4 separate regions of the Homo sapiens genome follow, and all the other regions are linked to region 3. Evidence: promoter capture Hi-C in human tissues and cell types (Jung and others, 2019). All regions are on one chromosome and are shown on one strand. The core of a region is centred on a gene start or on the middle of the fragment in contact, and the rest is flanking DNA. Distances in the headings are between cores, read along the strand shown. Region 1 has its middle 8.7 kb from the start of MIR5680. Region 2 has its middle 48 kb from the start of RRM2B. Region 3 holds the start of YWHAZ (tyrosine 3-monooxygenase/tryptophan 5-monooxygenase activation protein zeta). Region 4 overlaps RRM2B (ribonucleotide reductase regulatory TP53 inducible subunit M2B).

Region 1 (6,706 bases), core at 1,789-4,288, 1.2 Mb before region 3:
TGCTCAAGGTCACATGGTCAGTAAATAGTGGAGTTCTCATCTGAAATCCACAATTTATGCACTTAGTAGAATTACTTGTGAACAGAGTATTTAAAGTGAGTTTAGTGAGCTTAGTGTGAAGCTCTAGCCTCTCTATTCCTGCAAGTATAGCTATATAACTTCAAGAAATTTTAAGTTCTGACTGGCTAGAAGACATGAGAAAAATGACATAGACGTCTCTGCCTGGATTTTTACTCAACTATTTGACCAATATTCTTGAGCAGTTTCTACATGCTCAGCATTCTGTTAGGTTGTAGGGATACAGGCTGAATAAGATCTAGTCCCCTGTCTTTAGGAATTTATATTCTAATGTGAAAGTGCAAGACATAATTAGGGAAGGGATTGACTAGAATCTGGAGCAGGTAGGGGAATGTGCAGGAGGTAAGTTCCCTTCCTGGGGATGGTGGTCTTGCATTTTGTTTCCTGAGGCAGCCCCAGTACAGTGCTTTGTGCCATAGGCAAGCAATAAATATTTCTTGAATACAACCTTTTAAAAAACTGTGGTTAAATATACATAACATAAAATTGACCATTTTAACCATTCTTAAACGTACAGTTCAGTGGCTTTAAATACATTCACATTATTGTGCAACCATCACCACCATCCATCTCCAGAACTTCTTCATCCTGCCCAGCTGAAACTCTGTTTCCACTAAACACTAACTTCCTATCTCCTCCTCCCTTCCAACCTCTGGCAACCACTATTCTACTTTCTGTCTCTATGAATTGACTACTCTAGGTACCTCATATAAAAGGTATTTGTCTTTTTTGTGACTGGCCTATTTCACTTATAATAATGTCCCCAGAGATCATCCGTGTTGTAACATGGGCAGAATTTCTTTCCTTTTTAAGGTGGAATACTGTTCCATTGTATGTATGTACCACACTTTGTTTATCCATGCATCTGCTGATGGACGTTTGGGTTGCTTCCATCTTTTGGCTACTGTGAAAACACTGCTGTGAATATGGGTGTACAGTGATATGTTCAACTCCCTGTTTTCAGTTCTTCTGGGTATATACCCAGAAGTGGAAATGCTGAGTTATATGGCAATTCTGTGTTTAAGTTTTGGAGGAACATCCACTGTTTTCCACGGTGGTACCATTTAACATACCCACCAGCAATGCACAAGGATTCCATCAACACTTGTTATTTTCTGTTTTTTCTTTTAATATAATAGCCATGCTAGTAGGTGTGAAATGTTGAACACATTCTTGAAGGTAGGTTGGAATTGAATTGTGAGAAATAGTGGTAGAGTTTAAACTTCATTCTAGGGTCATGGGGAACCATTGGATATTTGTTGCCTGTGATAATGGCATGATCGGAAGGTTTGGACGTTAGAGAGGGGGTGGGGAGAAGAGGAAAGCAGCAGAGAAGTTATTTTAATTATTTAGATGAGAGAACATAATAGTTTTCCCCACATCTGTACAACTGAAAATATGTCTATCTCTAGTAAATGGTACTGAACTTGGGGAGGAAATGTAAATACGGCATCGAGAGATCTCATGGCCCAGGATTCCTCACAGAAGTAGACTACTGTTGCTAATAATAGCACTCATGCTAGCAAATGCCTAAAGGCGATTCAAGTATTGATTAATTCTGCTAAATCCTATGAAAGATTCCTCCTCCAGCATCCCATAAGGAGGCGGATGAACTGCTCAGAAGGCAGTAACTGAGGAAAGTTAATGAAGGGACTATTTACAAAGGTGCGGGTAAGATCAGGGAACCCACCAGAAGTGGCCAGCAGTGCATGCAAGCCTTCACTACCCAGCCCTGACAGCATGAGGTGAGAGAGCAGTTTCTGGAGTTGTTCAGGGGACAGGGCTGCTGGCTGGAGCTGTGGTTTTCAGTAGAGGAATATGACTACTGCCCATTGTGGCCTGGTGGGGAGGCATCCAGGTGGATAAAGGCCCCAGCCACTCTCTTCCACTCTCTGATCTGGTGCTGGTGCCTCCCAATTGGCCAAACTAGCCACAGCCAGACAGCAAGAAGGCCTGTTGATGTGGGACTATCTTGTAGTCCATAGTAGCCAACACAAAGTAGTGTTCTAATTATCCCCAATTTACAGGTAAGTGAACCGAGGCATTGAGAGGTTGAATGATTTACCAACATTGGGAGCTAGTGCAGGTTATGGAGCTGAAATCTGAAGACTGACAAATAATCAGAGATCATCAGCACATTTCTTCTGTATATGCAGCTGGATCTGGAAGGTTACGTTTTCCCCAACCTGTGTGTTTTGGTTCTTTGGAAATAATCTGATGTGTACAAACTTGGCTTGGCTGTCAATAGGTGGTGTGGGTGCCTGCTCAGATCCCCCACTTTTTACAAAAATAATGTACTTTGCAGGCATATTTCATACTTGATTCATTGTGTTTAGATAAAAAGAATATTTTCCATATACTTGATGGGAGTGACAACATGTCCTTGAATCACATTTGCTACACATGAAAAAGATGTAAGTTGCGTTTTTTTTTTTTTTGAGTTGAAAGTGCCAACGGAGTTGACAGTGTCACCTGGCTGTTTAAACATTAGTGAGACCTTGGGCTGCAATAAGAGAATACTGTTCAAAGGAAGGGAGAGGATCGTTCCCTCTGTGCTGCCCTGACTGGTACAAGTTAAGGGGATTTCTCATGAGCTGGCGGATGCCGAGGACAGTAGCTGGGACTCTCTGGCCTGGAATCGCTCTGTGGGACTTTTATATTCTTTTCTTCACATACATGAAAGCACTGTACTGAGGGAAAGGGATTAGACTCATCTGGGGCCAGAACTAGGCCTACTGTGAACACGGAATGGGCTGCTTTGGAAGGCTTCATATAGTCCCTGGCCGGAGATTGTGAAGCTGAGGCCACAGGTGAGAGATGGGGCTGTAAGCTTATATTTGTTTCCTGTGGCCGCTGAAACAAATGACCACAAAATGGTGGTTGAATGCAACAGATATTTATCCTCTCACGGCTCCGGAGGCTAGAAGTCTGAGGCCGAAATGCCGTGCTTCCTCCAGGGATTCTAGGGGCGACTTCATCCTTTGCCTCTTTTAGCTTCTGGTAGCTGCAGCATTCTTGGGCATGAGGTTGCATCACTAGAGCTGCGCTGCACGTCACATTGCTTCCTGCTCTTCTCTGTGTGTCTCTCCTCTGCGCATCTTTTATAAAGACATTTGTCACTGGATTTAGAACCCAGCTGCGTGATCCAGAATGATTTTATTTCAAGATCCTTTATGACATCTGCAAAGACCCTTTTTCCAAATAAGGTCATATTCACTGGTTCCGGGGGTTAAAGCTTGGTTATGGCCAGGCCCAGTGGCTCATGTCTGTAATCCCAGCACTTTGGGAGGTCGAGGCAGGAGGATTGCTTGAGCCCAGGAGTTCAAAAACAGCCTGGCCAACAAGGTGAGACCCCATCTCTACCAAAAAATAAATAAATAGATAAAAATAAGTAAAAGAAAAAAAATTAGGCCTCTTGGCATGCACCCGTGGTTCCAGCTACTCGGGAGGCTGAGGTAGGAGAATCTCTTGGGCCCGGGAGGTGGAGGCGGCAGTGAGCCATGTTGACCCCACTGCACTCCAGCCTGGGTGACAGAGCGATACCTTGTCTCAAAACAACAACACCACCACCCTACAAAAGAAACCCAAAAAAGTCTTGGACACTTGGACATACTTTTTTTGGGGGTCACCACCATTCAATCCATGACAGAGCTCAGTAGTTAGGATACACGGCAACTATGGATTCTCTGACTCTGTTACGGTGCCCCTAGATTTGATTTACTGTCTGGATTCTAGGTTCCTTGACACACAGTAGAGGTTTTTGTTTTTGTTTGTTTTTGTTTTTGTTTTTGTTTATTATACTTTAAGTTCTAGGGTACATGTGCACAACGTGCAGGTTTGTTACATATGTATACATGTGCCATGTTGCTGTGCTGCACCCATTAACTCATCATTTACATTAGGTATATCTCCTAATGCTATCCCTCCCGCCTCCCCCCACCCTACGACAGGCCCCGGTGTGTGATGTTCCCCTTCTGACACAGTAGAGGTTTTCTAAATGCTTTTGATTTGATCATTTGCAACTTTATTCTAACTTTAAACAACAAAATAAACAAACACTTAAAATCTACCGTCCTTTACTTCTGAAATAAAGGGGTGTGAAAGAGGCTGTCAGAAGCCAGTTTGATCCCTGTCTCAGCTAAACGTTTTCTGGGCTTTGCTTTGCTGGATGGCATTGAAGGAAATGAATGGGAAAAAGAGCTGCCACTGGTCCTGTTCAGGCTTCTCACCTGGGGCTTTCCCAGATGCTTTTAGAAATATAATTTCTCAGAGGAAGGCTAAGGATGCTGGAGTCTTTCAGGAAAGGGAAGCAGAAGCAGCAGAGACTCAAGTTTCTAAGCCCATGCTTCAGGAAGCATCCACTACAAATATTGTTTGTGAATGCCATTGACCCATCCGCACGTCTTTTATTTATGTATTTTCAACAGTGAGCCCCAAAGTAGGGCCTGTGTACATCGGGCACATAAGGCAAGGTAAAGAGTAGCTTTGGCAATGGCCTGGAGAATTCGATGACTGTAGTCCATCAAATGAGGTGTATCAGAAAAGTCCACTCCAGGGCATCAATTATTCTGTTTTATTGTCTGCATTGATCGCATTAACTGGGGAAGAGCCAAAATCCATTCAGTCTGTGCTATGGAGTAGCAGGTGTAATTAAGGTCAGTTTCTCTCTAGGGGGCAGCTAATTTTGGTTTCTCAGCTGCTTTACAGTTTGACTTTAAAAGAGAGGAAGGAAAGAAAAAAAGGTAAAGTGCCCCTTCATGTTACCATCTTACCTATCCTACTGTATCATTGTTACTCTGGTTAATATTAACTTTGGATCCTTTTGCTTTAACAGTGTATCGGAATACTGTGATACTTACAGAATTTAGTCTCACTACCTGAAGAAAAGGTTTGCCTTGCAGGGGACCAACTACACAGTTTGTGGGGCTCACAACAAAATGAAAGTGTGGGAACTTTGTTTAAAAAAATTAAGAATTTGAAGATGGTGCTAGTGGAGGATTAATGCCAGCATGGGGCCCTGCTGAGTATGGGGCCTGTGTGATGGCACAGGTCACATGCTCATGAAACTGGCCCTGGCTTTGTGCATATGCTGAGGATGGTGTCCTTTTACCTACCTGGCACCTTAACTCCCAAAGAGTGACCAGGCCAGTTTCCTCTGCCTTGGTTGGAGCACAGCTCTTCTGTAGGGCAAGGGCAGTAAGAGGCCTGGATATCTCCTGTTGGCCCTTCCACATCCCTGGCTCCCTTCTCCACCTGGCTCTGTGCCCCAAGAGGTGATCTTTACCACTGGCGTCAATGGCCATCTTTTCTTCTGACTTCTGGTATAATTTGGCCAGAAATCAGCAGGAGACGGGAGGGTGGGAGGAGAGTGAGGTAGGGTATTTATTCCCCTGTCCCTCCACTGGGTTGCAAGCTGCAGCTTGGTGTGTGTGTGCTAAAGACCACAGCGCCTGCAGCTATCCTCTCCATATCGCCACCCTCTTTGGGTTCCTTCAGCCACTTCCTCCCCTCATGCCTTCAGGCCTAGGGTGGTCATGGCTTCCTGCTATTACTAGCCTTAGAGTCCTGCATCATCCTTCATTGCTTTCCTGAACCCCTGTATGACTTTCTTCTCAATAGCCTCTTCAGTAGGACTCCTCTGTAGGATTCAAGAGCAGCCTCTTTAGTTTTCTGGTTGGGCTTTAACTGATTTGGTAACCCTTGGACAGAGTTTGGCCACAGCTTGCTCTGCTGCAGGGCAGAAAGAGAGAAGCTGATGGCTGTGATAACACGTGACTCTGCTGGGCCAGCTCCTGGTAGGGATGGGTGATCAGAAGGCAGTACCTCCACATCTACAGTGGTGGAGAACGTATGTTTGAGAGCTAGACATTTGAATTCTCTGGCCTGACTTTGGGGAAGTCATCTCATCCATAAAATGAGCGAATGACAGCCCTTCACTTACAGGGCTGTTTTGAGCATGAAGCGAGATCACGTGGGCATCATGCTTGTCATAGTGCCTGGCACACAGGAAGTGCTCGAGAAGCATTGCTGCTTTTAGCATTAGTTCTACGGAGTGACCCCCTTGAGGGGATACACTCGCTACTCTTCTCTGATCTGAACTAAGGCACTGACAGCCTAGACTACACCAATGATTATCAAGTTTTCACTGATTCACGGTTGTTTGGGGTGCTATTTCTGTCTTTTCAAGTAGATTGTTCTGAAATTGTTCTTATCTTACATACCTTTTAAAAAACTAATATAAGTGCCCAACCCAGTAGGTAGCACATCATAACTGGCCAAGAAATGTTTCTTGGCTAAATATAAGACGACTACATAATTTATTGTTCACATTGGGACATTTTTGAGAGTGAAAGGGGAGGACTTTCCAGTAATTACAGCAAAACAGCAGGCACAAATGGGGACTGTCCTAGGCAATCCAGGTAAAGAAACATAGTTATTCTACTTAAGTGGGACTTAAGGCAGTTTTCAAAATACATTTTTAAAATTTGCCGGCCTACCATATTTTGTATTCGTCTGCCTTTGGTTTATGAAATAAAAACATGAGATTTGAAAAACATAGGCAAAAATATGTTTAACACTTCTAATAGATTCTTGGCCTGAATTTGAGGCAATGGGCCAGGGCCTCTTA
Region 2 (6,309 bases), core at 2,193-4,692, 1.2 Mb before region 3:
TGGGCTCAAGCAATCCTCCCACCTCAGCTTCCCAAGTGGCTGAGACTACAGTTGTGTACCACCACACCCAGCTAATTTTTTAATTTTTATTTTGTAGAGACAGGGTCTCACTATGTTGACCAAGCTGGTTTTGAACTCCTGGCCTCAAGTGATTCTCCTGCCTCAGCCACCCAAAGTTCTGAGATTACAGGTGTGAGCCACCATGCCTGGCCCAGCCTCCCCCTTTTAAAACAATTCAAAGCGAGTTCATTATTTCTTCCTTATCATTTCTGTGTCCCTCATCCATAGGGTGGTTTCAATACTCCTATTCTGATTACATTCCTTACAAAACATTTAAAACTGTAAACGGACACTCATATCCACTTCTCAGCAATGCTGGAATCCTTCATGTACATTCATTTCCCAGCCCTCATTTGGCACGGCTTTTCTGCATTTCAGTTGGGATAAGGTGGTCCTGAGTAGTCAGATGCCTTCCTGGTGGCCTCATCCCCTAACGGTGGTGAGTTCACAGAAGAAGGTGTCCAAGGCACTCCTGGGTTCTGCCATTGGGGTGCCCTGCCTGCTTTTCATTTCAGGACTGTGCCCCAGCACCCTTCTTTCCTAGGGAGGAGTGCTACTGCCTTTTAACTGAGACCAAGTTAGGAATGCTTAATGTTCAAACCAAAACCTTTGTCCTGGAGACAGTACATCAGGTACTCATGCCTGGACTACAAAAAACTCTGTGGCTCCTCCAGATTGGAAGACAGCTGGGATTGTTTTCCCTTCTGCAGGTATGTTTGGACTGAAAAACATCTTTGATTGTATTACTTTTGAATGGCTGGTTTCCTGTTGTGATCTAGCTAATATTTAAGTTCCCCGTGACAGGAATAAATTACAGAGCTTATTCTATCCTGTAGCTCACACCTTTCACAAAACAGCCCATCAGAAGACAGTGAGACCATGTGCTCATCAAGCCAGGTGGCTGGAGTGGGAAGAGGCAGGCAGGATAAGAAATGCCCCTTTCCTGGCTTTAGGGTTTCATAACTGAGGAGGGCATGAAAGGAGGGGCACAGGCTCAAATGGAGGTATTACCAGGTATGCTAGGCTGAGACTAGGATTCAAAGTGTGTGGTGTGTGGAAAAGAGTACCAGGTTAGGAGTTACAAAGAGTAGCAAAGCGGAAAGATGAAATACTTTAGTCAGAAGAAGAATCTCAGTTCTATCATTTATTAGCCATGTGACCTTGAATGAGTTACTTAAGCCCCTCTGAACCTCAATTTTCTAATCTGTAAAATGGGAATATATATTGATCTGTGGTTTGAAGGAGTTGCAATATAGACAAGAGTCTGGATCTGAGTTGAGTGTAGAAAGGGAAGAGTGCTGGGAGAGAGAAGAGATGCATCAAATCCCAGTTTGTGGTTGGACTAGTCTTGGTGAGTTTTAATCCTGTGGTCAGCCCAGGTATCCTGAAAGCTGTTACTCTCAGGGTGCCACTGGATGCTTGTTTTATAAGAGCAGACTAAGGTCCCAAAAAGTCAAGAACCTTGCCCAAGTCCCATATAGAGCAGTAACTAGAACTAGAACTAGGTTATCAGCTTTAACCTTAAATCCTTCTTAATAAATTGGCTTTTAAAACTTGTTCTCAGCTGGTCATGGTGGTTCAAGCCTATAATCCCAACACTTTGGGAGGCCAAGGCAGGAGGATCACTTGAGCCCAGGAGTTCAAAATCAGCCTAGGCAACATAGGGAGAACCTGTCTCTACAAAATTTTACAAAAATTAACAGATATGGTGGTACACACCTGTGGTCCCACCTACTCAGGAGGCTGAGGTAGGAGGATTGCTTGGGCCCAGGAGGTTGAGGGTGCAGTGAGCCATGGTTGCACCGCTGCACTCTAGCCTGAGTAACAGAGTAAGACCCTTTCTCAATCAATCAATCAATCAATCAATCTCTCAGCCTCAGACTAGCCATGGGTAAAATGAGGTTAAAATGAATAAATTATAGGCCATATCCAGTCTCTGTGCCTTTCCTTTCTCCTTACCCTCTGAACCTCCTCAAATATGAGTTTTACTCACAGTTGGTGACATAGTTTGACTATATGTCCCTACCAAATCTCATGTTGAATTGTAATCCCCACTGTTGGAGGTGAGGCCTAGTGGGAGGTGTTTGGGTCATGGGGAAGATCCCTCATGGTTTGGTGCTGTCCTCCTGATAGTGAGTGAGTTCTCATGAGAGCTGGCCCCAACTCTCTCTTGTTCCTGCTCCCACAATGTGATGTGCAAGCTCCTGCTTTGCCTTCTGCTATAAGTAAAAGCTCCCAGAGTCCTCCCCAGAAGCTGAGCAAGTGCCAGCACCATGCTTCCTGTACAGCCTGTAGAACAGTGAACCAAATAAACCTCTTTTTAAAATAAATTACCAAGTCTCAGGTATTTCTTTATAGCAACACAAGAATGGCCTAACACAAAAAGTTGGTACTGGGAGTTGGGCATTGCTATGAAGATACCTGAAAATGTGGAAGCAGCTATAGAACTAGATAAGAGGCAGAAGTTGGAAGGGTTTGGAGGGCTCAGAAGAAGGCAGGAATATGAGGGAAAGATTGGAATTTCTTAGAGACTGGTTAATTCACTGTGACCAAAATGCTGATAGTGATATGGACAGTGAAGTCTAGGCTGCTGAGGTCTCAGATGGAAATGAAGATCTTATTAGGAAATAGAGCAAAGGTCACCCTGTTATGCCTTAGCAAAGATTTGGATGTATTGTGTCCATGCTCTAGGGATCTAGGGAAGTTTGAACTTGAGAGTGATGACCTAGAGTATCTGGTAGAAGAAATTTCTAAGCAGCAAAATATTCAAGATATGATCTGGCTGTTTCTAATAGCCTACATTCAGATGTGGGAGCAAATAAATAACCTAAAGTTGGAATTTATATTTAAAAGGGAAGCAGAGGGTAGAGGTATGGAAAATTTGCAGCCTGGACATGTGGTAGAAAAGAAAAGCCTGTTTTCAGGGGAAGAATCCAAGCAGGCTGTGGAGCAATCACTTGCTAGAGAGATTTGCATAACTAAGAAAGAGCCAGGTGCTGATAGCCAAGACAATGGGAGAAAAGGCCTTGAAGGCATTTTGGAGATCTCAGAGGCAGCCCCTCCCATCACAGGTCCAAAGGCCTAGGAGAGAATGGTTTTGGGGACCAGGCCCAGGGCCCTGCTGCTCTGTGCAGCCTCAGGACACTGTTCCCTACACCTAGGCAGCTCCAGCTACAGCCACAATTCAAAGGGATCCAGGTACAACTCGGGCCTCTGCTCTAGCTCCAGAGGGTGTAAGCAGTAAGGCTTGGCAGCTTCCACATGATGTTAAGCCTGTGGATCCACAGAATGCAAGAGTGAATAAGGCTTGGAAGGTTACCCCTAGATTTCAGAAGATGTATGAAAAAGCTTGGGTGCCCAGGCAGAAGCCTGCTGTAGGGGCAGAGCCCTCACAGATAACCTCTACTAGGGCAGTGCAGAGAGGAAATGTGGAGTTGGAGGCCCTTCACAGAGTCCCTACTGGGGCACTGCCTAGTGGAGCTGTGGGTAGAAGGCCACTGTCCTCCAGATCCCAGAATGGTAGATCCACCAGCAGCTTGCACTCTGCACCTGGAAAAGCCACAGGCTACCAACTCTAATTCATGAAAACAGCCATGGTGAGTAGACACCACAGAGACACAGGTGGGGGTGGAGTTGCCTAAGGCCTTAGGAGCCCACTTGTTGCAGCAATGTGCCCTGGATCTGGGACATGGAGTCAAAGGAGATTATTCAGGAGCTTTAAGATTTAATGATTGCCTGGCTGGGTTTTGAACTTCCACGGCACCTCTCATCTCTTTCTTTTGGCCAATTTTTTCCCTTTTGGAATGGGAATGTTTACCCAATGCCTGTACCCTCATTGTACTTTGGAAGTAAATAACTTGCTTTTGATTTTACAGTATCATAGACGGAAGGGACTTGCCTTGTCTCAGATGAGACTTTGGACTTCTGAGTTCATGCTGGAATGAATTAAGACCTTGGGGTGCTCTTGGGAAGGCATGATTATATTTTGCACTATGAGGAGCATATGAGATTTGTGGGGCCAGGGGCAGAATGATATAGTTTGAATATATGTCCCCACCAAATCTCATATTGAATTGTAATCCCTGATGTTGGAGGTGGGGCCTGGTGGGAGGTGTTTGGCTCATGGGGGCAGATCTCTCATGGCTTGCTGTTATCCTCCTGATAGTGAGTGAGTCCTCATGACATCTGGTTGTTATAAAGTGTGGCACCTTCCCCAACCCCCTTGCTCCTGCTCCTACCATGTAATGTACAAGCTGCCACTTTACCTTTTGCCATGAGTAAAAGCTCCCTGTGGCCTCCCCAGAAGGTGAGCAGATGCCAGCACCATGCTTCCTGTATAGCCTGCAGAACTGTGAGCCAATTAAGCCTCTTTTCTTTATAAATGGCCCAGCCTCAGGTATCTCTTTATAGCAACACAAGAATGGCCTAACACTCAATGGTGGGAGACTGAAAGCTTTCCCACTCAACTCAGGAACAAGCCAAGGAAGCCTACTTTCTTCACTGCTAATCAACATTGTACTGGAAGTTCCAGCCAGAGCAGTCAAGCTACAAAAAGAACTAAAAGGCATCCAAATTGGAAAGGAAGAAGTAAAATGATCTATATTCACAGATGACAATCTGACATATAGATATGAAATTTAAAACTCATTCAGAGTAAGGTGTAAATGACTGATAAATTTTATTTTCTCCCCAGGGGTATTTGCTTTCAAATCAAGGTAGTAAATTCTGCATGTGAAGCTTATTGCATCAATCTGCTGATATAAACATCTTCTTATTCTTAACTTTCCCATGAGCACTGAAATCAGTCTGCATAGAGTAACCTGCCCTACCTACATTGTTGCAGACTGCCTCCTACCAGGCTCCTTTATTCTCTTTGTCTCCAGCTTCCTCCCATCTTCTTTTACCTGTTTAAGGGAAGGATGCTCTTTATTAGTGGTTTTTAAAGTGTGGTGCTCAGACCAGCAGCATCAGCATCACCGTGGAGTTGGTGAGAATGCAATTTCTGAGGCCCTGGCCCAGCTGAGTCAGAAGCCCTGGGTTGGGGCCCACAGATCTGTATTTTGACATGCCTTCCACGTGGTTCTGATGCACACTAGAGTTGGAGAACCAGTGAACTGTGGAATGAAATAAGACCTGAAATTTATTCCTGTCCAAGGAAGTTGGGACATTAACTGAATAACAGCTGGAAATAAGTCAGCAGCAATACAATTAAACACATTACATAGAATACTACCGCTGGCTTAGCTTGGTATTTTGGCAAGGGCTGCCTTCTAGGCTGTTGCCCTGCCCCCTGCCTCTCTAGCCCTCTCTGTGGGCTTCTGTTTCTCTCAGCCTACCCTTCAGACCTTCTTCCTCTTCCCCTGCTTGATGCCCTCTTGCTTTTCCCCAGGCTAAGGCAGATACCAACTCCCCTCAAGTTGGTAACACTATTGTGTAGACAGCTCCTTTATCACCGTGGTCAGGCCGGGCCATCCCTAAGGCTGTGTTACTCTGCCTATTACCTCCCTTACCACCCACACTTTTCATTCCAGGTCTCTGAAGTTTTGGGGGCTCAGCTTCTGAACATTTTGTTCTCCCTTGCAAGCTCATGAAGACAGTTGCGTCAGTTTCCTTCACTGGGGATGGTTCCTTTGTGTCTTCTTTCTCATTGGACAACTTAACACATTTTCTTCATTCTACCCACAGAACAAAGCCATGGCACCTTGTTTGTCTGCCTCATTCATTTGTTCAAGGGTCCTTTCACGACTGACCTTATTCTGATCACAAGGCAAACATGTGGAAGTTGCAGGTGTCCTCAGATGGGAAATTCCTGTTTGCAAAGTCTAGCTTTTCACCTGGCAGCCAGGTGGACACTTTTGTCACCTTTGAGACCTTCAGCAGCAAGACCATCTTTAAAGACTTCTCCTGCTATCAGAAACAACTTATTTGAGGAGGGGGGCCAGGATAATAACCCTTGGTGTACAGATGTTCACCTTCAATCTTACAGGAATTAAAATGTTTCCAATTTTTGGCCATGTGAGTCAGCTGGGTGGTTTATTACTGTTAGACAGTGTTTGTCAAAGCTTGGGCCTTGGCTTACTGCTTGGAAGCTCCCGAGGGTGCTTATAGCAGATAACCAGGCCTCACCTCACATCTGCTCAATCAGACTTTCCAGAAATGAGCCCAGAATTTGCATTTGCACACTCAGAGGGAATTTGGAGATGATTCTATTCACTCCAAGGTTGGGGTAGGTGCTGGATTTGTTTCCAG
Region 3 (6,870 bases), core at 1,183-3,682:
ATTTATTCTGCTCTGTATGCCACAGGTTATTCCTTATTTCTTAAAAGATCTTTTCCTCAGGGCTTTCATAACATCCCGTTCCTTTCTTGCAGCTTCATTATATCTTTATTGTGCAGACACATTGACTTGAGTATGTAAAACCTAACAGTGCCTATTGTTGCACTAAAAAATGCCTTGCTATTAAAGCATGAGGCAAAAGCCTAACTTAGCTGTTTCCTGAAGTAAATCCATATTTATACAGAAAAACCCCTTAACTTCCTCTAAAACAAAAGGCATATACTCTACATAGACATATATTTGAGACATTAAAGAAACATCAATTTCCATTTTAAAAAAACGTTTAACTTAGTATCCTCTGTCAAATTTCTGGTGCCTACGAAAAAACTGTAAAAAAAATAGCTTTTGAAATATTACTCATTTTAAGTGAGTCACGCCCTAAAAGAATTTACTTGGGAGTCAAAGCTAGTTGACCCTAACATCTCAGAAATAAAACTCCAATTTGTTTATCCATTTAACCTACCATGAGTCTGTGATTTGGCAACTTGTGAAAAGCAACAACAAAAAAACCCACTAAAATATAACTGGTCACTGGAAACCCTCTTTCTGGTCTGTACTATCTAAATGCCAGCTGTCATGTCAGGCAAAAAGTAATTTGTAGAGCAGCCTTGTGGTCCACTGTATTATGTAGGAAAGACAATGTACTGGAAGAGCGAGGACTCAATCATTTCGTGTCTACTACTGAGAAACTAAATTCTGTAGAGAACATGAGGCTAAACGGAGGCTCTGGTCAGCTCAATAAAGATACGTTGGAAGAATCAATGGGGAGTTTACACAAGAGTAAAATGAAGAGTTCCAAGCTCTCTCATTGCTAACCGTACACTCTCCATGGCTGTTGCAAGTGGTTTTGCAGGTCATCCAAGCACTAATCTTTTCTTAGCCCGAACACATTTAAAGAGGGAAGGGGCAGAGATCATTCACACTGTGAATGTTTCTCTCTGAACTTCCTGAAGTCAACTGGGCGGAGGCCCTACCGGTTCAGGCACCTGCAATTTCCGCCTTTCTCCTTCCCCTTCTTCCGGGCTCCCGTCCCGGCTCATCACCCGGCCTGTGGCCCACTCCCACCGCCAGCTGGAACCCTGGGGACTACGACGTCCCTCAAACCTTGCTTCTAGGAGATAAAAAGGTAATGATCGTCATGTGCAGTATGAGGTCTTCACGTGAAAGCTTTATTTGGGTAGGAAAACCTAGCCTACGAGAAACGGGTCCGTGCGGTCACGCCTGACTGCCTGTCTCCGGGTCAAGGCTGCCAGGACCAGCTCCAGCCCTCCGCCCGAGAAGGCTGTCCTTTCCCCTCGGAACTCTGGCTTCCCTAAAGCGGCCGCGCCTCCTTCCAGGCCTCACCTCCTGCCGGCTCCGCCCGGCCCGGCCCACCTCGCCCCCACCTCGGCGCCCACCCATTGTCCCCTCGCGCAGTCACCGAGCGCAGATCCCGCGCTCTCGATTGGAACGCCTCCCCATCACTCAGCCACACTCAGGGGCTGGACGCCTCACTCCCGTTTCCGAGCCATAAAAGGTCTAGGACCGCTTCCCCCGAGCCAGCAGGTAAAGCCGCGGCGGCGGGAGGGAGGCCGGGAGGGGCCGCGCGCCCCGGTCGGCCCAGCCGGGGAAGGGGAGCGGCGGGCGGGGCGGGGGGCAGCGCACCACACACAACCCTCCCTTGCCGTGCGACCGCGCCCTGCCCCCGCCCCGGGGCCCCCGCCCCGCAAGTCCTGATCACAATGCCGGAGCCGCCGAGCCACCCTTGTCATCCTGCCCGGGGACGGCCCTGGGGCAGTTACTACCGCGAAGCACGGAGGGTGGGGCGGGCCGGGCCTCGGGGAGGGGTGGGGGGATGTGAAAGGTCCCGGATGTTGCTGAACGGGAGCCCCTTCCAGAGGGAGTGACTGGGGCAAGCGCAGACGGGCTGAGCGAAAGCTAAGGTGGGGGTAGGGAGAGAACGCCTTCCCGCCGGCTGAGAGGAAGAGTGGGCCGGCAGAGGCTGCAGGGGAGAGGGAGAGAGAGGGCGTTGGGGACCCAAAGGGAAGGCGAGGAGTGGGGGATTTGCGTTGGGGAGGAAAAGGAAAAAAGCAGCCTCCTGCCCTAGGTGCACTCGGGACAAGCGTAGAGGAGCTGGAAGCCGAGCGGGGTGGGAGGAGTGGCGGCTGCGGGCGAGGACGCGCGCGCCTCCGCTCGCCCTCCAGCGCGGGCGGGCAGGACGAGCGCCGGGGAGCGGCGGTTACGCGGGGCCCCGATCGCTGTGGGCACCAATCAACGGTTGCCATAGCAGCGTTTGACGTCATCGTGCGTGTGGTGCCCCTGCTGCCGGGGCTGGTGATTGGAGGAAACCCCGTGTCTGCGGAGCGGCTGTAGCCTGTGAGCAGCGAGATCCAGGGACAGAGTCTCAGCCTCGCCGCTGCTGCCGCCGCCGCCGCCCAGAGACTGCTGAGCCCGTCCGTCCGCCGCCACCACCCACTCCGGACACAGGTGAGGAACCCGGCCGCCGCCGCGCCTCGCTTCCTGTCCCAGGCCAGCCTTCCGAACGCGTGGGAGCCGTCCTCGCTCCGTCCCCTCATCCCCACTCGCCCCGCGGTGGCGGCGCCGGGCTGAGGCGGAGTCTCCTCAGCGGACACGGGCGGCGGCTCCTCTTCCGCTGGGCTCGGGAGGGCGGCTAGCGGCCGCCTCCGGCTCCTTGCTTCCGCATCGACGCCCCGGCGCCGATCGGTGCTCGCTCCCCCGTCCTGCCCCCGGGGGTGGGTAGGGCGCCCACACGCGAGATCCCTGGGGATCTCCCTGTCGCCGGCTCCCGAAGGTGGACGAGGCATGGCCGGGGCGCCGCCGGCCGCGATCCATCCCCACCCTTGTCTCTGCGGGCTTCCACCCCCTCCCTCGCCGCCCTTCTCGCTTCCGCCCGAGATAATGACTCGGCGGCGGCGGCGGCGGGCATCGCAGTGGCGCAGGTGAGGCCGCCCCCTCCCCTCTCCCTCGGCCGCCCCCTCCTTTCCCTCCCCCTCGCGCAGCCTCCGCGCTGGGCGCTGCGGCGGCGGGACCCGGCCCTCCCCCACCCCGGGAGGCGGTGGCGCGGCGGGGAGGGGCCGGGGGCCTCGGGGACCCAAGCGCGAGGGAAAGGCCTGGCCGAGAGCGGGCCGGAGCCCAGGCCTGGCGCGGCGGCGCCCGCCAGGTAGACCGGGGCGAGGCTGCGCGCCGGCGGGAGGGGAGTCCACTGCGGGGTGAGGTTTTGGGGTGGGGCTCGCCTGGGACCTAGAGCTGAATTTCCTGGGCTCCGCGGTGGGAGGAAGGACTTGAATTTTCCTGGTGGGGGTGGGGGATGGGTCTGACTTTTTTTGCTCCTTGTGAACGGGCGGGGGAGGTGTGGACGGGGGCTGCAAGTCCAGGTCGGGGTAGAGAACAGGGTGGTGAGCCCGCAGTCGGCTCCCGTGCTTGATGGACTAGAACTGGAGGGTCCCTGCGCTCGGTTTGGGGACGCATATCCTGCTTTGGGGGCGGGTGAGCCTGAGCATAGCCGCTGGTGGCCCGCTCGGCTGGGTGTGGCTCTCGTCCCCTCCCCCACCTGCAGCTGTCGGTCCCTTAGAGACGCTGTACACGGTCACCGGCGCTGATCGGTGGCGGGGAAGGCGCTGGGTGGGAGAGCGGGGTGTGTCCGCGGCGGGGCTGGTAGTGGTTCCGCTTCTGCGGGCTGCTGTGGCGTCTCTGCCCCGGGGTCGGGCGGCTTCGCTCCCCATCTCTCCCCCCCCCCCACGGCTTGGGCGGGGGCGCGGGCTGCTCCTCCCTCTGGCTCCGGTCGGGGGGAGGAATTAACACTCTGCAGTAGGTTGGGCTCCCTGACACAGATCCGCCATGACAAAGGAGGAGAGTCGGGGACTTGAGCCGTGGCTCCGACTTGGGCGGAGCCTGGAGGGGGGTGGTTGCGATACGCGGACCGGAGAATTTGCACTTTAAAGTCCGGGTCTGCCCGTTTTCGTTTCACAGTAACCGACGTCTCAAGTCAGGTAAGGGTTAAATGGGTGCGGTGAGTCCTGCCCGCAGTGTAGAGGCGAGGCCTTGGAGCACTCGTTACTGTGTGAGAAACCTTATCCACTTCCTCTTGTACCGAAGTGATTGGGGAGAGAATCCTTTGTACTGGCTTAAATCATTTTTTGTTAGAAGCAGAAATAACCAGAGAGCGTTTCTGAGATCCTAAGGGAAAAATCAGTAATTTAGAGACCTGACGAAAATAATGCCGTCATAAAGGTTAAATAGTTTACGTATTGAGCCAGTACCTTGCATCCAAAGTGGTTAATTATTTGTTTAAAATGTGGCGACCTGTTCTCTCATTTGGTTAAAAAAATATTGTGGGATTTCCCTGGGAAGGTAAAAGATGATTAATATTCGGGAGCCAGCTGCCAAGGTGGACTCTTCTGTTCACCTTCTAACTTAAAAGTGCACTTCATTCAGGGTGTGTATTTTCCTCTGAAGTCATTTATTCTGTGGTGTCACTGTGTGGATTAGTATCTTTGTGCTGTTCGGCAACTTGCAAAAGGGTATCTTTCCAGAAAAATGTAGCTGAGGTAAATCGAAAAGGTCCAGGAAACTAAAATGCGAGGGAAAGAGAATTAGATGGGTAGTCATGGTAAAGGACAGCTTGAGTGGTAACATCCAATTACATTATGATGGCTAGAAGCAAAATGCAGCACTTCTGCATTTCAACTGGAGCGATGACATTGGAAACACTTATAAATTAAGTACTTCCAATGTGATATATTCTAGTACTCACAGTAAGAGTTGAAGTGTCATGACTTGCGGATATTTTTAAAGCATGTGGACATATAACAAGATAAAGAGTTGAGACATTAGGGTCAGATATTGATCCTTTGTGGTGGATTTATACTCAAAATATCTGAAAACAAACAGTTGGTCATTCCCCCCCAAATTGTTATGCTATTATTGGCTGGCAGTTGTTGCAGAGATCTAGTAGGTTTGGGGTAGGGGTAACACTAAAGCTAAAATGTAATCACTCTTGACAAGAGTATTATGAAAGTAAAAAGACGTGAGTTACATTAAACTGATATGAATTATGATTCTGGAAATATGATAGAAATCCAGATGTTCTCTGTAAACAATGCTTTTACTAAAGGAAGAAAAGCTGCTTAATTTTGGATCACTTAGTGGTATTGGAAATGAGTTGAGATTTTGATCAGGTAAGATTAGGGGTAGTTTTTGAGGCAGCTTTTGGAAGTAATTTTGACATGTGAAATTTGGGTCTTCTGAACAAATTTTAAGTTTTGCTACACTGATGTGTTAATGGCTGTAAGTTTACCTCTGATGCTGAGTATGCTAAATTTTTTTCCCTTTTTTGACTATCCTTTTGTGAGGCTGCATTTTAATTCCTCATGTGAACAGTCTTTCACAGGCAGTTAGGTTTCAGGTTTAAAAAACTCATTTACCACAGGTATAATTTTGAGTCTGTTTATTTTGATGGGAAAAATTTTAAATACTCCTTTTTTCCCCCCTGCAGAACATCCAGTCATGGATAAAAATGAGCTGGTTCAGAAGGCCAAACTGGCCGAGCAGGCTGAGCGATATGATGACATGGCAGCCTGCATGAAGTCTGTAACTGAGCAAGGAGCTGAATTATCCAATGAGGAGAGGAATCTTCTCTCAGTTGCTTATAAAAATGTTGTAGGAGCCCGTAGGTCATCTTGGAGGGTCGTCTCAAGTATTGAACAAAAGACGGAAGGTGCTGAGAAAAAACAGCAGATGGCTCGAGAATACAGAGAGAAAATTGAGACGGAGCTAAGAGATATCTGCAATGATGTACTGGTGAGAATCAATTCAGTCTGGCTTCATTATACTGTAGGGTCCCTATGAGTATCAGTTACATTACTCTTAACTTTTTGTTTGGTTTTTCTTTTCCTTCTAAACATTGTGTGTTCCAAATTTAAAAGTCTTCATGGTGTCATGACTAAAAAGATGTTAAGACAATTATAGATACGTGTATGTAAAATAATTGCAACAATGATTATGAAACAGTTCAGTTTTGTTAAAAATAACAGACTTTAGTATTGTATTTTATATTAATTGAAAATATAAACTAATTGTGTTACTGTTTTACTTATGGTTAGAATATTTGTAGTAGCTCTATAGCTGGTTATCTTAAATGTACATCTGTGGATAAAGGAATTTTACATACTTTAGGTAAGAGAGATGTAATAGGATACTCATTGTAGAAATAGTACTCTTCTCAGGATTAGCCGCTATAATGTTAATGTAATGAGTCAACCATGCAGAAAACTCTGGCGTCACAACTATGAAACCTCTTCCTGCATTGAATTCTTGAAGGTAAATTTTGAACACTCACAACCATGATGAAAGGTTATGAACAACTCAAGCTTGATTTTCCAGTTTGAATCGAGTATTTTAAGTATTCAGTACTTACTGTGTTGAAGCACTGCGCTTAAAAGAATTAAACTACATTTTGGTTAATTTTAATCTGTCATATAAAGTAGGGCTTTTTGATCAAGAATAGTTTAAATTTGAGGATAAACCAGTAGAGAATCCAACCAAGCTGGCAGTTTTTGGAATAATATTTAAAGTGGTTTTACTAAATGGTTACACTTAACCAGTATGGAAGGGCTCTGATATACAAAGAGGGGCAGCATCTCGATTTTTCTGGACAGATTACTGAATCTGGAACTCAGTATGGAAATCCAGGTTTGTTACTTACTATATGAACCTTGTTTATGGAAGAAGTGCTATAATGAGCAATAGGATAATGTCTGATGTGGTTGTGGGTTTGGGGTTTTTGTTAAAGTTGTGATGATACTATCATTTCTT
Region 4 (6,436 bases), core at 3,594-6,093, 1.3 Mb before region 3:
TGATATATTACAATTATTATGTCAGTTTACAATTTGCTTTAGTAAGTCAGTCTTTATTATATATTAAGGTTTTATGTATACTAAAACCTGTTTCAGGGCTATTTTTCTGTCTTATTGATCTCTGTCAAATTTTATGCCATGATCAGCTAATTATAGTAGCTTTTTTTTTTACATTTTTAGTGACTGGAGAACAGTGATGATTTTTTATTTGTTTTGTATTTTTAATAACGTAGCAAGGTACCTAGCTTGAAGCATACACAAATTTTTATAGAATGAATAAGTAAGTTAATGAAAAGTAACAATTAAGTTAGGGTATGTACGGATTTCTTACTAGAAAGAGCTAGATGCGCTACTTAGGATGTGTTTTTATCATTCTGAAATTGCTTTTGTTTTGGTAACACTGCGTAGTTTAACAGGCGTAGTTTGTATATTGAAAGAGGAAAAAGGCATAACAGGTACTTTGGTATCTTTAATCATTTTGAGAACTAAATCCAAGTGGTTAATATATTTTTATTTTTCCTCTATTAACGCTTTACCACTATATAGTCTTTCAGTATGGTTGGAGCTATTTTATCTCCCAACCCCCAAATCTGTTTGTTTCTTTTTTCTCATTTTCTTTGTTAATTGAGTTTTTCTTTCTTTCCCAGCTCCCTTCCATAGTCATGTTCTTCATGATGATCATCTTTGAATCTTTTTCCAGATATTTTAGAACAAAGTATCTTTTTTTTCTATTGAGAAAGCATACGAATCCGAGTCTTATATCTGCTACTTCAAGAAATCCAGTAATTTGGTAGTTCGTTTCCATTTATTTTGGCTCTTCGAAAACATGAAAAAATGTGAATAGTTAATACCCCAAATGTTTTTAAATATACGGACATCATTTGCCACATTGAAAGAATTTATCCTAATATACTTTCCTTGGACAAAATCAGTCTTAGAAATAAAACGAAAGTCCTCTTTCTATTTGGAAAATACATATTTATAGTTTTGTTTGTACTTTATTCTGTTTTTGTTTTCATCCCAGGAGTTTTTAACAGAAGCCTTGCCAGTTGGCCTCATTGGAATGAATTGCATTTTGATGAAACAGTACATTGAGTTTGTAGCTGACAGATTACTTGTGGAACTTGGATTCTCAAAGGTAATGTGTTTAAAAATGTGTTACTACTAGTTAAAATATTATAGGAAAGCAAGGACCCTAAAGTATAATTTACTGAAAGCATTTGTAACATACTATTCTATTTTTTAAATGTCAATGACAGAGACTTGTTTTGTATGAACAAGGTTTTGCAAAATCCTTTGAAATTTAAAATTAATAACTGAAGTAGGAGGCTGGTAAAATATTAGAACTAATAAGCTCAATAAATTATTTTGCAATAATTGTAGCTGTATATTTAATAGGATTATTTTCAAGGAGTTAGGTTTAATATGCATATATATATTCACCCTCATATAAATCGCCATGTGTCTATATTGTGGTTTGGGAGTTAATACTTTTAAATAGGGAATAGTTATTAGGAAGACATTAACTGTCACAATATAACTCTTTGAACAGAGTTATTCAAGTTATTTTTGTCATTTATCAGAGATAATGTACCTGAATTTCATCAGTGCGGTTTTCCCATTACTTAAGACATGGAGCCTGCAGCCACACTATCTGGGTTTGAATCCTGGTTCCACCACTTTCTAGCTGTGTGACCTTTGGCAGGTTGCTTAACTATCTCAGTTTCCTCATCTATAAATTAGAGATAGTAATAATATTTACTACAAAGGATTGTTGATGAGTTGATACACTTAAAGCACTTAAAATAATATTAGACACATAATAAACTCACACTAGATGGTCACTTTGTACTTAAGTGAAACACAGAAATTCACTATGTACTATACCATGGTAATTAGAAATACAGATTTTGATTTCTTGTCATGAAAATGTAAGTTCAAATTATCTTTAATGAGAATCCTTATGAAATCTATGATGCTGTGGTAATCATTACCTATCTTGCTAATGTTGTATTAGCAGATATAGCAGAATTATATTCTGATAACCACCCAGGTACTTAATGAAAAAGTCAAGTGGGGCGTAGGTTTTTTTGGTAAGATAAACTACATTTTAACATTTTAGTTGCAAGATCCTCTCTGTGTTTACTAATTAATGAGAAATCAAGATTATAACTATATTAATATAATCTCTTAAACTTATAAACTATGTATATTAAAAGAAATTGTGTTTGTTCATAACTTTTACCAATATTTTTGTTATTAGAAAATGAATTTGCTTATTTAAGCCTTACAGTGAATTCGCTATTCTTTAACCCATTACCATATCCTCACATCCACACGTTCATGTTCTGCTGCTTATTAGAAAACTGCTGACCCTTGGGTCTAATTTTCCTTTTGGGAACTTGCTAACTGTAGGTATGTAAAACATGCCACCTCCTGCAGGAGAAGGTCTAAACACAATGTAAAACTTTGTTTTTCCACAGGCTTCAAAATATCTGAGTAAATTCTAAAAAGCAGAAATTATAGAGGCCTTAGATTTTTAATGCAATGAAAGTAGAAACTGATTTAAAAATTGCCAAAAAGCTTAATCTACTTAGAGATTAAAAATATATCCGTTAGGCCAGGTGCGGTGGCTCACACCTCTAATCCCAGAACTCTGGGAGGCTGAGGTGGAAGAATCACTTGAGTCTAGGAGTTTGAGACCAGCCTAGGCAACATGGCGAAATCCTACAAAAAATTAGCCAGGCCTGGTGGCATGCCTGTAGTCCCAGTTACTTGGGAAGCTGAGCTGGGAGGATCACTTGAGCCTGGGAGGCAGAGGTTGCAGTGAGCTGAGATTGTGCCACGGCACTCCAGCCTGAGCAACAGAGTGAGACCCTTTCTCTCTCGCTCTCTCTCTCTCTCTCTCTGCATATACATGTATCTCCTTTAAAATGAGATTTAAAATGAAAATAAAAATTAATTGAAAATATAAAGTAAATGACAATATGATTACTATGTATCAAAACTTGTAGGAGCTGGGCCTTGTGGCTGACTCCTATAATCCCAGCACTTCGGAGGCCAAGGCAGGAGGATTGCTCGACCCCAGGAGTTCCACACTAGTTTCAGCAATATAGCAAGACCCTATCTCTACAAATAAAAATAATAATAAGGCTGGGCACAGTGGCTCATGCCTGTAATCCCAAAATTTTGGGAAGCTGAGGCAGGTGGATCACCTGAGGTCAGGAGTTCAAGACCAGCCTGGCCAACATGGTGAAACCCTGTCTCTACTAAAAATACAACAATTAGCTGGGCATGGTGGTGGGTGCCTGTAATCCTAGCTACTCGGGAGGCTGAGGCGAGAGAATCGCTTGAACCCAGGAGGCAGAGGTTGCAGTGAGCCGAGATTGTGCCATTGCACTCCAGCCTGGGCAAAAAGACCGAAACTCTGTGTCAAAAAAAAAACCCACCAAAAACAAGCCACTTAATTTAGTTTGTTTTTTTGGTCTTGGTTACTTTGTCCATGCCATGAATGACTTAGATCTAATTTTTTGAAAAGTCTTCAGTTCTAACATCTAGTGAGTCTATGGCTATTGGTTCAGTGCCCTTTCACTGTATCTTGCTGTATATTACAGCTCCAATATTCCCTCACTTTTTACACACAATTTCTGATGGAGAATTTCATAGAATTTCACTCAGCCACACCCAGCATATGAGTTTTTGGAAAAAAGATACATAAATATTTAAAGCTTTATTTAAAGATTAAGTCACATAGCATGCAATTCACCCATTTAAAATGTACAATTCAATAGTTTTTAGTGTAGTCACAGAGTTGTACAACCATCATAACAACCTATTTTAGAACATTTTTATCACCCCATAAAGAAACTGTATCCCTATTAGCAGTCAGTCACTCCTCTTTCCTCCCCTTACCCACCTTGCCTTAGGCAACCACTAATCTAATTTTTGTGTCTGTAGATTTGCCTATTCTGCGTCTGTAGATTTGCCTATTCTGCATATTCTATTTCATACAAATGGAATCATATAATATGTGGCCTTTTGTGGTTCTCTTCTTTCCTTAGTGTGTTTTCATGGTGCATTCATGTTGTAGCATGTATCAGTGCTTTATTCCTTTATATGACCAAATAAATAATATTCCACTGTATGGATATACCAAATTTTATTTATCCATTCGATGGACATTTAAGTTGTTTCCTCTTTTGATCTATTGTGAATAATGCTACTATGAACGTTCATTTACACATTTTTGTGTGGACATGTTTTCATATCTCTTAAGTATACACCTAGGAGTGAAATTGCTGGATCATATGGTAACTCCATGTTTAATCATTAGAAGAACTACCAGACTGTTTTCTAAAGCAGCTGCACAATTTTATATTCCCACCCTGTATGAGGGTTCTAATTTCTCCACATCCGCACCAACACTTATTACCTGTTTTTTAAAAAATTATAGCCATCCGAGTAGGTGGGAAGTGGTATCTCATTGTGATCTTGATTTGCATGTCTCTAATGGATAAGGATGCTGAGCATCTTTTCATTTTGTATATCTTCTTTAAAGAAGTATCAGTTTGTCTATTTAGACACTCTGCCCATATTTAAAATTGGGTTACTTGAATATATGTTTATCTGTAGTGTTCATATTTTTTGCTGGGATACTCCTAAATTGAGAAATCCTCTTTTGTTACTCCTTGTGAATCACTGAAATATCCCACAGTTTCCATCAAGCTGTATCTCCAAGTCTGCTTCTTGAATTCTTTTTTTTTTGAAATGGAGTCTTACTCTGTTGCCCAGGCTACAGTGCAATGGCATGATCTTGGCTCACTGCAACCTCTGCCTCTCAGGTTCAAGCAATTCTCCTGCCTCAGCCTCTTGAGTAGCTTGGATTACAGGCATCTGCTACCACGCCCAGCTAATTTTTGTACTTTTAGTAGAGACAGGGTTTCACCATGTCAGTCAGGCTGGTCTCAAACTCCTGACTTCAGGTGATCCCACCTACCTCGGCCTCCCAAAGTGCTGAGATTACAGGCATGAGCCACCATGCTCGGCCTTGTTTCTTGAATTCTGAAGCAGTAAAAAAGCTTCTTGTTAGCATAGTCCCCCTTTTTGTTTGGAGACATCTAGTCACTATGGATAACATTTATTCTGTCTTCCCTGATCATGTTCCCTTAATGACAATTTGTTGATTATCTGTTCTCTTATAAACTAAGAAACATACTTAGAACCACAGTGGATTGTTGCTAATTTAACATTTTATAGTATCATGTATGTCTGACTAATAGTAATATCTATGAAAAATGCTCATGGTGTATTGGATATCTCAAGCTGTGAGAACATTTTCTATTGGTTAGTATTAAATATTTCAATTCCTGAAATAGTTGTGTTTTTTTTTCTATTTATTAGAATACCAGAGATGCTAGTACAGTTTCTTGAGGAGATTAGTGGTTGATCTTGGGTCATCTTAAAATTTGTCAGCCTTGAGTACCTCCAGGGTCTTAGGGGAATGATATGATCTTGTAGCTGACTAGATAGGTTTTGAGAAACCTGACCTCTGTTTTGGTCATCTTTGCTCTTATTGTGGATGTAATTTGATCTCTTCAGAATGTCTAATAATATTTCTTTCCTTTTTAGGTTTTTCAGGCAGAAAATCCTTTTGATTTTATGGAAAACATTTCTTTAGAAGGAAAAACAAATTTCTTTGAGAAACGAGTTTCAGAGTATCAGCGTTTTGCAGTTATGGCAGAAACCACAGATAACGTCTTCACCTTGGATGCAGATTTTTAAAAAACCTCTCGTTTTAAAACTCTATAAACTTGTCATTGGTAAATAGTAGTCTATTTTCCTCTGCTTAAAAAAAATTTTAAGTATATCCTTTAAAGGACTGGGGGTTTGCTCAAAAGGAAATCCAAAACCTATTCTAAACAATTTGCATTTATATAATTTTCCTGTTTAACAACAAGAGTGTGACCTAAATGCTTTTGTCTTGTCACTGAAATAAAAGATGGCATTATGTGGTTAAGAGCATGGGGCGAGGGGTCAGACATGAGTCTAAGGTTCTGCCCTTACTCCAGTGTGTGACCCTTGGCAAGTCAGTTAATCTTGGTAAACCTCGGTGTACTTATCTTTAAAATGGGAGTAATAGTAGGTCCTAAATTCATAGAGTGGATATTAGGATTAGGATGCAAAAATAAATGCTTAACCAACACTACTACTGTTAGCACCACTACTAATTATCATTCATTGATAATATTAATTGCAATGATGTTGTAATAAAATACTCTCATTTCCTTAAAATAATTGTGATTCTAGGTCCTAGGATCTAGAATTAGATCTTTGTATTTTTAATGCTTAGGGGAAGAATATAAGTATCTCCTTAAAAAGAACATAATTCTCATTCACGCAAGAATAAGTTCTTTGAATTCCTTAGTATGTAGTGAAG

The links. The method cuts DNA at HindIII sites, captures the fragments that hold promoters and counts their contacts. A contact is called where the count stands out against the background at its distance.
Region 1: a fragment that was not itself captured here is called in contact with the fragment with the promoter of YWHAZ in region 3 in 1 of the 25 tissues and cell types used here (dorsolateral prefrontal cortex).
Region 2: a contact is called between a fragment that was not itself captured here and the fragment with the promoter of YWHAZ in region 3, in 1 of the 25 tissues and cell types used here (dorsolateral prefrontal cortex).
Region 4: a fragment that was not itself captured here is called in contact with the fragment with the promoter of YWHAZ in region 3 in 1 of the 25 tissues and cell types used here (heart right ventricle).

Annotation. Positions count from the first base shown.
Region 1 is chr8:102,113,424-102,120,129 of GRCh38, reverse strand. It overlaps a transcript of NCALD not described here. Among named protein-coding and RNA genes, the nearest start is that of MIR5680, 8.7 kb to the left of the region's middle. The HindIII fragment of the contact is 4,908 bases long and covers 585-5,492 here.
Region 2 is chr8:102,187,908-102,194,216 of GRCh38, reverse strand. No RefSeq gene overlaps it. Among named protein-coding and RNA genes, the nearest start is that of RRM2B, 48 kb to the left of the region's middle. RefSeq lists an enhancer at 2,765-3,382. The HindIII fragment of the contact is 4,036 bases long and covers 1,425-5,460 here.
Region 3 is chr8:100,947,582-100,954,451 of GRCh38, reverse strand. YWHAZ (tyrosine 3-monooxygenase/tryptophan 5-monooxygenase activation protein zeta) reads left to right here and starts at 2,432. Exons shown (of 6, transcript NM_145690.3): 1 at 2,432-2,523; 2 at 5,552-5,856. The coding sequence starts at 5,563. RefSeq lists enhancers at 948-1,077, 1,088-1,197, 1,477-2,335, 3,488-3,567, 3,194-4,053 and 1 more and silencers at 1,338-2,017, 2,038-2,297, 2,528-3,297, 3,688-3,907. The HindIII fragment of the contact is 8,101 bases long and covers 1-3,825 here.
Region 4 is chr8:102,207,478-102,213,913 of GRCh38, reverse strand. It overlaps RRM2B (ribonucleotide reductase regulatory TP53 inducible subunit M2B), which reads left to right. Exons shown (of 9, transcript NM_015713.5): 8 at 1,025-1,138; 9 at 5,629-6,436. The coding sequence ends at 5,781. Among named protein-coding and RNA genes, the nearest start is that of RRM2B, 28 kb to the left of the region's middle. The HindIII fragment of the contact is 3,373 bases long and covers 3,157-6,436 here.